3 separate regions of the Homo sapiens genome follow, and regions 1 and 2 are each linked to region 3. The links are contacts of gene promoters, found by promoter capture Hi-C in blood cells and fetal thymus (Javierre and others, 2016). All regions are on one chromosome and are shown on one strand. The core of a region is centred on a gene start or on the middle of the fragment in contact, and the rest is flanking DNA. Distances in the headings are between cores, read along the strand shown.

Region 1 (3,589 bases), core at 600-3,099, 560 kb before region 3:
AAGAGGGTGTCCAGTCTGGAAGCTCATGACAACCACGAAGTATGTCCTATTATTAACTCATTTTGCAGAAGAGGAAAACGAAACCTAGAGGTTCCATCACATGCTCAAAGCCGCACGGCTGACAAGTGGTCAAACTGGGGTTCCCACCCAGGTGGGCTTTCTGCCCTCTGTGTGACGGAGGTGGGAGTGGGATTCGGGGATGTGGCCACACACCTGAGCTGGCTGACCACTATCCAGTCATCCTGTTCATCCTCACCCAGGGGCACCTGGGTCTGGGTGCTGTCCGCGAGCTCCAGGATCTGTCCATCCCGAAGCCAATGTACCTCGGGGGGCTCTCCCTGAACCTGGAGCTGACACCGAAGGGTGCCCGTGAGTCCCCGGGCACCTGTGATATTCCCTGGGTTGCCCACGAAGGGACTTTCTTCAGCCTGCGTGCCTGGAGGGGAGATGGGAAGAGTTAGCTTAGGAACCCCCCAGCTCCTTCCGGCCCTCAGTTCCACCCTGTCCTTGCCTGCCCACCGGCGGCCAGGACCCCGCCAGGCCCTTAGGCCGACATAGTTGCAGAGTGACCTCAGAGTGGGGTGGAGGGCGGAGGCTCTGAGAGGAGGACGGGAGCCCTCCCAAGGGACTGGGATCTAGCGTCCATCCCGTCGGGAAGGAGGCTCGGGATCTGGCAGCCTCCCACGCCCTGCACTGCCTGGCAGGGCCAGCCCCTGCCCCCTCCGTCCTCTCTTAGGTCTCTAGAGACTTAACAGGTCGCGCTGGTGCTGGTGGATGGAGGGGAAGAATCAGGGGTTGGGGGAGAGAGATAAGGGTGGTGGTGGGGGGAGATAAGGGTGGTGGCGGAGGGAGAAGCCAGAGAAAGGCAGGGGAGATGAGACAGAGAGGAGCACAGATACAAGGCAAGACAGAAAAAATGAAGAAACAGCCCTCAAGAGAGAAGAAAAGGTGGGGGCGGAGGGGGGATACAGTCACAGAGGGAGGCTGAGAAGAGAGAGAGAGACTCAGAGAGCAGGGAGAGATAAAGGCAGAGACTGTGAAAGAGAGAGAAACAGAGACCCACAGAGATAGCAGAGCTGGAGGCAGAGACAGAGAGACAAAGTGAGAGCCTCCTCCCCAGAGATGGAGTGGACTGGTGGGGTAGGGACAAGTGGCGGGTCAGGGGGGTGGTGTTGGCAGGGAGAAGCGTTTTCCCCCAGGGCTCCAGAGCCCTCCTCATCCCACTGCCTGACTCGGTGCCCCTTCGGAAAGATTTCTTCCTTCCTGGCGACCCTCAGCTCAGCCCCTCTCCCCATGGCCCCCTTCTCAGGTCCAGCCCCCACCCCTGCCCTCAGCTTCTCCTTGTCTGTCTGTCTCTCCGGGTCCTCTCTTCTGTCCCCCCTGCCCTTCAGTTCCTCTCTCAGTCTTTCTCTCCCTCTGCCGCACTTGGTGTCTCTGAGTCTGTGTCTCCCTCCCTTGAAGTCCCTTTTCTGTGGTCCCAAGGAAACTCCCTAAGCCAGCCCAGGCCCCCCACACCTGCCATCATCCCCCACCTCCTACCCCTGCCCCAGCCCCTCCGAGGGGATCCCTGCCCCAAGGAGCCCCCATCACTCACCCCTGGGGGCCATGCACGCCCAGCCGCACAGCGCCAAGCACCAGGCCAGCGGGACCCTGCCCATCCTGGGGCACCGCCACGCCATGGGTGCCAAACTTTCCTCAGAAGTTGTTGGGCTCCCAGCGGGGGAGGGGGCAGGGCCGGGCTGTCCCCGGCCCTCCCCCCAGCTCCAGGCTCCCCGGATTTGGCACTGCCTGCCTGGCACAGCGGCAGGGGAGGCCCTTGCCACCGGCTCTGCCCAGCAGCCGCCTTCTCAGCACCCCTGCCTCCTTCCCTCACTCCCAGACTTGGGCAACCCTTTCTCCGCCCCTGGCTCCCCCTTTGCCTCCGCCCACCAGGGCCAGAGCCCAGGGGCCACCTGGACAATCAGGGGTTAACTCAAGAGAGGAGAGGATCAGCTCTTTCTTAAAGGGGCCAGGGAGGGAGCTGAGGAGGGGGAAGGGGACCCTGGTGGCTGTGCCCCCTGTCCTGAGCCAGTGAGGCCGTGTCTCTCTATCCGGGCTCTGGGCGCTGTCCCTCTGGGCTCTGTGTCTGGTAAACATTCCTCCAGAACTCCACTCCCCTCTCAGCTCAGGCCGTGACGCCCCTCTCCCCGCCTCCACCCCCAGCCCAGCCCCAGCCAGGCCTCCTTGGCCCTTCATTCCCCCTCACTCTCTCGGCTCCTCGGACAAGGACACACACACACACACACACACGCACGCACGCACGCACGCACACACACTCTTAGACGTCACTGACACACACAGGCTAGGACAAGCAGAGACACGCAGAGGGACCCAGACGGGCAGGGGCATGCTACTGGCCCACAGACACACTCAGACAAGCCAGGCCAGGAGCTCGATTCCTGGAGAAACCTCAGAGACAGGAGGACACGGCTGGGTGGGCATCCATGGGGGACACTTACTTGGGGAGACACAGATCTTCAGACACGCCAAAACCTGCATGGACGCCTAAATGGGACACCAAATACAGGCGACATGAAGGGGACCCAAGTTGGAATCCCAGTGCTACCACTAACTGTGGGCTACAGGCAAGTGACTGGCCTCCTGAGCCTCAGTTTGTCCATCTGTAAAATGGGAATAAGAATAGTTGTTGGCCGGGCACAGTAACTCACTCCTGTAATCCCAGCACTTTGGGAGGCCAAGGTGGGAGGATCGCTTGAGCCCAGGAGTTCGAGACCAGACTGGTCAATGCACTGAGACCCCCATCTCTACAAGAAGTTTAAAAATTAAAACTTAACCAGGTATCATGGCGTGTGCCTGTGGTCCCAGCTACTAGGGAGGCTGGAGTGAGAGGAACGCTTGAGTCCAAGAGATCGAGGCTGCAGTGAGCCCTGATCATTCCACTGCTCTCTCCTTCTGGTGGGACTGTGTGTCCTGGTTATTGCAGATCTGCTGCCTGCGTATCGGCTCTGCTGCACTTCCATTCCTCGGCCCTGTGTGTTTGGCACGTGGAGGGCTCTGCATGCCTGGATGTCTGTGAGGAGGAGGCTGGGCGTCTATCCCTCTGCTCTTGGCCACCTGTGTTTGGGTACTGGTATACCTACGGTGCATCATAAAGTCCTATCTGTTTGGCCTCCTGATGTCTCTTCTACCTGCCCCTTCCCAGCACCCCCGTCTGATCCTGCCTTCTCCTGCCTCTACTGTCACTCCTTTCTCCCATTTAGCAACCAGAGGACTGTTTCTGAAAGTCAAATCCTACCCTGTCCCTTCTCTGCTTGCCCATGGCCTCCTGCTGCCCTCAGGGCAAGCTCCCAGCTCCTTGTCACTGGCCACTTAGGGCCCTTCACCGTTGTCTCCCTGGGCTGTGTCTTTTTTTTTTTTTTTTTTTTTGAGACCCAGTCTTGCTTTGTTGCCCAGGCTGGAGTGCAATGGCTCGATCTCGGCTCACTGCAACCTCCATCTCCTGGGTTCAAGTGATCCTCCCACCTCAGCTTCCTGAGTTGCTGGGATTACAGGTGTGCACCACCATGCCAGGTTAATTTTTGTATTTTTG
Region 2 (3,409 bases), core at 32-2,531, 600 kb before region 3:
TAGCTCTAGACCCCCAGATCCTTTGTCCAGGAAAGCATCCTCTCCCCCGCCAGCCTCTGGACACCAGGGCTCCCTATACCTCTTCTAGAAGCCAACCAGAAAGTCCCCAGATCTCCCAGCACCTAATGTCCAGGCTGTGCCTGCTTCAAGGGTGGCCTTCCAGCCCCGGAAGAGAGATGGGGGTGCCCCCTAGTTCAATCTCCCGCAGCCCCTAAATGCTCACTAGCCAAACTCCAAAGCACTGAGTCCATTAGGACCCTCCCCAGCCACAGACACCAGCGCCTCCACCTCTCCCACCCACCCCCGTACCCAAATAGGAGAACGCCCAGGATCGCATCCAGCGGCATATTCCAGGATCCTCCTTCCTCAGAACTCTCGCAGCCCCGCACACCTGGACATTCCTTCCCCACCCTGGAAACACGGCTCCCCACCCCCCAGCCCACACGCTGGGCTAGCACGACCGCCAAGCCCACGGAGCTCCGTACCCTAGGATCCCCATTTTCGAGACCCTCCCCAACCCAAACGGAAAACCTCTTGTTCTTCCGACTCTCTTCGGCTCCAGAAAGCAGTTTCCGGTCTCCGATCCCTACGGTACGGAATCCTCCCCGCCACCCCCGTCCCTCACCTCCGAAACCCAGAGGCCCCTCCCCCAGTGTCCCCCCTGCACTGAGTGTCAGGATCCACCCTCCGGTCGTGCTGGGGCCCTGGTCCCCAGATCCTTTTCGGCGGCGGGTAGCGGGATCCCCCGATCCTCAGGTCGTCTCCCCGACCTCAGGCGCTGGACTCCCGCGTCCCACAGCCCTTTCCTCGGCCCAGGCTCCGGGCTCCCCGGCCCCCGCCCCGCGCACTCTCACAATGTCCGTCCGGCCCCGAGTAGCCGCCGGGCTCCGCGTGCGGCTGCAGCCCGGGCGGCGGTGGCTGCGCGGTCCCCTCCAGCTCGGAGCCCCCCTCGGTCTCGACCTCCTCGTTGATGTGCCCGGGTCGCCCCGGTTCGTCGTCGGCGTCGAGCTCCCGCTCGTCGTCAGGCTCCTCGGCCTCCAACGCCGCCTGCAGCCGCTCAGCAAGCTCGGCCTTGAGGCCTCGAGTGTCCAGGCCGCGGCGCTGCAGCTCCTCGCGAAGTTCGTTCACCTTCAGACGGCGCACATCCATGGCCCGGGCCCCCGGGGTGGCCCCCGAGCCCGGCCCGGCCTCCCAGGGCTCTGTCCCCCTTAAACCTTTCCTGTCAGGAGGCGAAGGGGGAAAGGGGGGGGGCCCACTCCAATGGCGGCAGCGGCTCAAAATGGCCGCCGCCACCGCCTCCCCCCTCACTCGTGCCTCGTCCGATGTTACATGAGTGCCAATTGGTCAGTGCGTGGGGCAACGGGCGCGGGCCCGGAAACCTAGCCAATCAGAGCGCCGTTTTCAAAACAACGGCCACGAGAAGGCCTAGGAGCTACTGGGGAGGAAGCGTTGGCCTACGTCGAAGCCGAGGCCGGAGCGGAGGGCGGGAAAAGGCAGGAGGCGGAGCGCTTGCTGATTGGGTAACTCTCGCGCGCCGGCTGCCGTAAGGTCCAATGAAAATAAGGGAGTAACAATTTGGTCCAATCAACGGTAAGATCTCAGAATGAGTGTCCCACGGCCTTTCCTGCGCAGTCCTTTCATCAAACTAAGTGTCTCTGTAACACACATTCCGATTGGTGTACATCTCCCGCCCCTTGAGGAGTCCGAGCGGGTAAAACCACTAGAACCAATCAAATGGAGGGTCGGCAGAAACCCCTCCTTCCTGTTGCCTTTAAGAAACCGGAAAGAGATGAATTCACCAGGAGCCCGCCCCTTGCCGTTAGGGCGGTTTCAAAACAATCTGCCCACCAATCGCAGTTATTGTCTTAGCTCACTAAAGCTGGTAGCGATGGCTCATTTTAGGAAAAGTTCACCAGATTGGCCGTGCTTCAGAGGACTGCCTCACAAATTTCGCTGTAGGAGGAGGTATACGAAATAGAGATTAAGTGGATACACAGTTCGTAATCTGGAAGGAACCCAGTTGCCTTTAGGAAAAGCAAAATTTTGAGTTGAGAGAGTCCCGAAGGTTTGGCTATAGAAACTAGACTAACAACGGGAGGCAAGTTGTAAAGGACACGGCCTCCCCTTCCCTTGGGTAGTCCGCGGCCGCCTTGCTCTATGGTCGGGTACCTGACGTGGAACGGGCGCTCTGCACGCGACCATAGAGCCTTCCCCTCCCGAAAGACATCCAGAAGTTCACCGACCGCTCTCCCGAATCCTCTAATCGGCTGTTCCCGTAAATCGGGCTGTCTGGCGTCTGTACCGACAAGCTCAACCCCACGGATCCGTCATTAACCTTCGCGCTCAGGAATACAAAAGCCACAGAGCTTCCCAGTGTCTAACGCTGCACCACCTGTCGCCTCTAACTCAAAACAAAACTCGAGTAAGACGCAATCGGGATACATGATGCAGACTCCCACTGCCTCCTGAGCCACACGTTAAGCCCGCAAAAGCCACACACTATCTCTACTCAGACAAAGGCACACCCCGCAGTCGTAAACAAACAGGCGTGCGTCAGATCAGACGCATCCAGTTCTTTTTTTTGTTGTTCTTTTTTTTTTTTTTTTTTTTTTGAGACGGAGTCTCGCTCTTGTTACCCTGGCTGGAGTGCAGGGCCTCTATCTCAGCTCACCGCAACCTCCGCCTCCCGTGTTCAAGCGATTCTCCTGCCTCAGCCTTCCGAGTAGCTGGGATTACAGGTCCCCGCCACCATGCCCGACTAATTTTTGTATTTTTAGTAGAGACGGGGTTTCACCATGTTGGCCAGGCTGGTCTCGAACTCCTGACCTCAAGTGATCCGCCCGCCTCGGCCTCCCAAAGTGCTGGGATTACAGGCGTGAGCCACCGCGCCCGGCCCCAATTCCGATCTGCTTTGGGTAAGGCACCCCGCTGCAGTGTAGATGTGCCCACTACGGTCCGCAGAGGCAGGCGGCATCGAATAATAAAGATAACACAGGATAGTTGCACTACAAGCGAACACTACAGCAACCCAAACACACAGCACCCACTCAGCAGCGGGACAGACACTCACGTGGGCCCAGAGGTTCCAGTCCAGACACCCCGCCCCTCGCCCACGTCCGACTTCCTCTCTCTCTCTCTCCTCCCAGCTTCCCACAATGATTTGTTCTAAAAAAGTTTGTGGCCCGGATTGAACTGTCCCCGGTTCTCAGGAGCCGCCACTGGAGGGCGTCCGGGCGCTGCCAAGGGTTTCTCCATTTGCTGCCGGCCACACCCGCGAACGCCCGCTCGCGAGTGCGTGCCAGACACGGTGGGCTGGTCTTCGCTGGAGGCCCTTTGTGGGTCCGTGATGATCGGAGGTGTTCTGTGCCTGTGTTTCTATGTCAGTCTGAACGTTCGGGGTTGTGAGTAC
Region 3 (3,379 bases), core at 538-3,037:
ACTGAGGTATAATCTACCTGTCATAAAATTCACCTATTATAAGTGATTTACTGATTTTGGGTGATTTTACAGTTCTGCAGCCATCACAGCCAATTCAAGAACATTTCCATCACTCTGAAAAGATCCCTTCTGCCCATTTGCAGTCGCTCCCTATTCCCTGTCCCAGCCCCAGGCAACCACTGGTCTACTTTCTGTCCCATACATATTCTCTTCTTCATTTTACAAGCATTTTCTGAATATTTATTTTTATCAGCTATTGAGGGCTGAGGGTACACAATGAAACTCACAGGCCCTGCCTTCAGGGAACTCAGAGTCTGGTTATTGTAATAGCTGATGGGAAAATATGTCCATGCACTAATTTCTTCATTCATTCAAAAAACATTTATTGGCCAGGCACTGTGGCTTGTGCCTGTAATCCCAGCACTTTGGGAGGCTGATTGGGGAGGGTCACTTGAGGCCAGGAGTTCAAGACCAGCCTGGAAAATATAGTGAGACCCCCCCCCCCACCCCGATCTCTACAAAAAAATTTTTTTTTTTAATTATCAAGGTGTGGTGGTGCACACCTATAGTCCCAGTAACAGGAAGCTGAGGTGGGAGGATTGCTTGAGCCCAGGAGGTCGAGGCTGCAGTGAGCCATGATTGTGCCACTGCACTCCAGCCTGGGTGACAGAACAAGACCATCTCTACAGAAAAAAAAAAAAAAAAAAAAAAGAGAGAAAAAGAAGGGTCTTCCAAAAATTCATGGAAAATGTGTATTATGAAAAAACTATGCATGGAGTTCAATTTTTTTTTTTTGCACCAAAATAAATTCATACTAACTTGTTATAACTTGTCTGAACAGGACCTAGTTTGAGACACTAAAATAAAACATCAGATTGAAAAGAGCCCCTATCAGAGCAACACGAATTCTAAAATTGAAGCAAGAACAAGCATCAAATTGATGGTGAAGCTTGGGTGGAAGAATGATGAAATCATTGATGTTTTCCAAAAACTTGACAGTGCCCCAGAGAAATCAGCCATTTACAAATGGATAACTCGTTTTAAGAAGGGACAAGTTCGGGCGTGGTGGTTCACGCCTGTAATCCCAATACTTTGGGAGGCTGAGGCCAGCGGATCATTGGAGCTCAGGAATTCGAGACCAGCCTGGGTAACATGGTGAAACCCCATCCGTACAAAAAATACATAAATTAGCTGGGTGTGGTGGTGCACACTTGTAGTTCCAGCTACTCAGGAGGCTGAGGTGGGAGGATCACTTGAGTCTGGGAGGTAGAGGTTGCAGTGAGCCGTGATTGCGCCACTGCACTCCAGCCTGGGTCATGCTGAAGATGAAGCCCACCGTGGCATACCATCCACATCAATTTTTGCAGAAAAAAATTAAATTTGTTTATGCCTTAATTAAAGAGGACTTACAGTTAACAGCAGAAACAATAGCCAACACCATAGACATCTCAATTGGTACAGCTTACACAATTCTTTTTTCTTTTTTTTTTTTTTTTTTTTTGAGACAGGGTTCTCATACTGTCGCCCAGGCTGAGTACAGTGGTGAGATTGTGGCTCACTGCAGCCTCAACCTCCTGGGCTCAAGCGATCCTTCCACCTCAGCCTCCGAAGTAGTTGGAACTACAGGTGCGTGCCAGCACGTTCAGCTAAGTGTCACACGCGTCCCTGTGAAGAGACCACCAAACAGGCTTTGTGTGAGCAACAAGGCTGTTTATTTCACCTGGGTGCAGGCAGGCTGAGTCCAAAAAGAGAGTCAGCAAAGGGTGGTGGGATTATGATTAATTCTTATAGGTTTTGGGATAGGCGGTGGAGTTTGGAGCAATGTTTTGCGGGCAGGGGGCGGATCTCACAAAGTTCATTCTCAAGGATGGGAAGAATTACAAAGAAACTTCTTAAGGGTGGGGGAGATTACAAAGTACATTGATCATTAGGGTGGGGCAGAAACAAATCACAATGGTGGAATGTCATCAGTTAAGGCTATTTTCACTTCTTTTGTGGCTCTTCAGTTGCTTCAGGCCACCTGGATGTATACGTGCAGGTCACAGGCGATATGATGGCTTAGCTTGGGCTCAGAGGCCTGACACTAAATTTTCGTATTTTTTGTAGAGATGGGGGTCTCATTAGGTTTCCCAGGCTGGTCTTGAACTCCTGGACACAAGTGATCCTCCTGCCTCATTCTCCCGAACTGCTGGGATTACAGGCTTGAGCCACCTCACCCGGCCTCAGCTTACACAATTCTGACTGAAATTAAAGCTAAACAAACTTTCCACTCGATGGGTGCCAGAACGGTCGCACCCAGATCAGCTGCAGAGAAGAGCAGAGCTTTCCATGGACATGCTAAACAAGTGAGATCGAGATCCTAATGCATTTCCTTGAAGGATTGTAACGGGAAATGATACATGGTTTCACGGGTGCAATCCTAAAGACAAATCGTAATCAGAGAATGATTGCCAAGAGCGGGGAAGTGATCCAGTCAAGGCAGAAGCACACTGGTCAAGAGCAAAGGTCATAGCAACAGTTTTTGGGGATGCTCAAGGCATTTTGCTGGTTGACTTTCTGTAGGGTCAAAGAATAATAAGATCTGCTTATTATGAGAGTGTTTTGAGAAAGTTAGCCGAAGCTTTAGTAGAAATAAGCCTGGGAAGCTTCACCAGAGAGTTCTTCTCCAGCATGTCTACGCTTCTGCTCATTCTCCTCATCAAACGAGCAATTTTACAAGTTTTGATGGGAAATTATTAGGCATCCACTTGGCAGTCCCAATTTGGCTCCTTCTGACTTTTTGTTTCCTAATCTTAAAATCTTTGAAGGGCACCCATTTTTCTTCAGTTAAGAATGTAAAAAGACTGGGCTGGGCGGAGTGGCTCACGCCTGTAATCTTAGCATTTTGGGAGGCCAAGGAGGGTGGATCACCTGAGGTTGGGAGTTCAAGACCAGCCTGACCAACATGGCAAAACCCTGTCTCTACTAAAAAAAAAAATACAAAAATTAGCCAGGTGTGGTGGCTCATGACTGTAATCCCAGCTAGTCGGGAGGCTGAGGCAGGAGAATCACTTGAACCCAGGAGGTGGAGGTTGCAGTGAGCCGAGATCATGCCACTGCACTCCAGCCTGGGCAACAAGAACAAAAAAAAAAGGCCTGGCACAGTGGCTCACAACTGTAATGCTAGCACTTTGGGAGGCCGAGGCGGGCAGATCACCTGAAGTTAGGAGTTTGAGACCAGCCCGGCCAACTTGGCAAAACCTCGTCTCTACTAAAAAAAAAAAAATTAGCCAGATGTGGTGGTACATGCCTGTAGTCCCAGCTACTCAGGAGGCTGAGGCAGGAGAATGGCTTGAACCCGGGAGGCAGAGGTTGCAGTGAGCCGAGATCATACCACTGC

Evidence for each region. The method cuts DNA at HindIII sites, captures the fragments that hold promoters and counts their contacts. A CHiCAGO score of 5 or more calls a contact.
Region 1: the fragment with the promoter of AXL here is called in contact with a fragment that was not itself captured in region 3 in 2 of 17 cell types (naive CD8 T cells and total CD8 T cells); the score reaches 8.8 in naive CD8 T cells.
Region 2: the fragment with the promoter of HNRNPUL1 here is called in contact with a fragment that was not itself captured in region 3 in 1 of 17 cell types (naive CD8 T cells); the score reaches 6.7 in naive CD8 T cells.

What each region holds. Positions count from the first base shown.
Region 1 is chr19:41,217,483-41,221,071 of GRCh38, reverse strand. It overlaps AXL (AXL receptor tyrosine kinase), which reads right to left and starts at 1,849. Exons shown (of 20, transcript NM_021913.5): 1 at 1,595-1,849; 2 at 214-436. The coding sequence starts at 1,679. RefSeq lists a silencer at 2,136-2,275 and an enhancer at 1,884-2,708. The HindIII fragment of the contact is 40,135 bases long and covers 1-3,589 here.
Region 2 is chr19:41,262,244-41,265,652 of GRCh38, reverse strand. It overlaps HNRNPUL1 (heterogeneous nuclear ribonucleoprotein U like 1), which reads right to left and starts at 1,281. Exons shown (of 15, transcript NM_007040.6): 1 at 855-1,281. The coding sequence starts at 1,149. RefSeq lists silencers at 756-805, 826-895, 986-1,225 and enhancers at 1,231-1,769, 1,770-2,309, 2,310-2,849, 3,206-3,295, 3,326-3,375. The HindIII fragment of the contact is 17,682 bases long and covers 1-3,409 here.
Region 3 is chr19:40,658,677-40,662,055 of GRCh38, reverse strand. No RefSeq gene overlaps it. Among named protein-coding and RNA genes, the nearest start is that of NUMBL, 30 kb to the left of the region's middle. The HindIII fragment of the contact is 1,671 bases long and covers 952-2,622 here.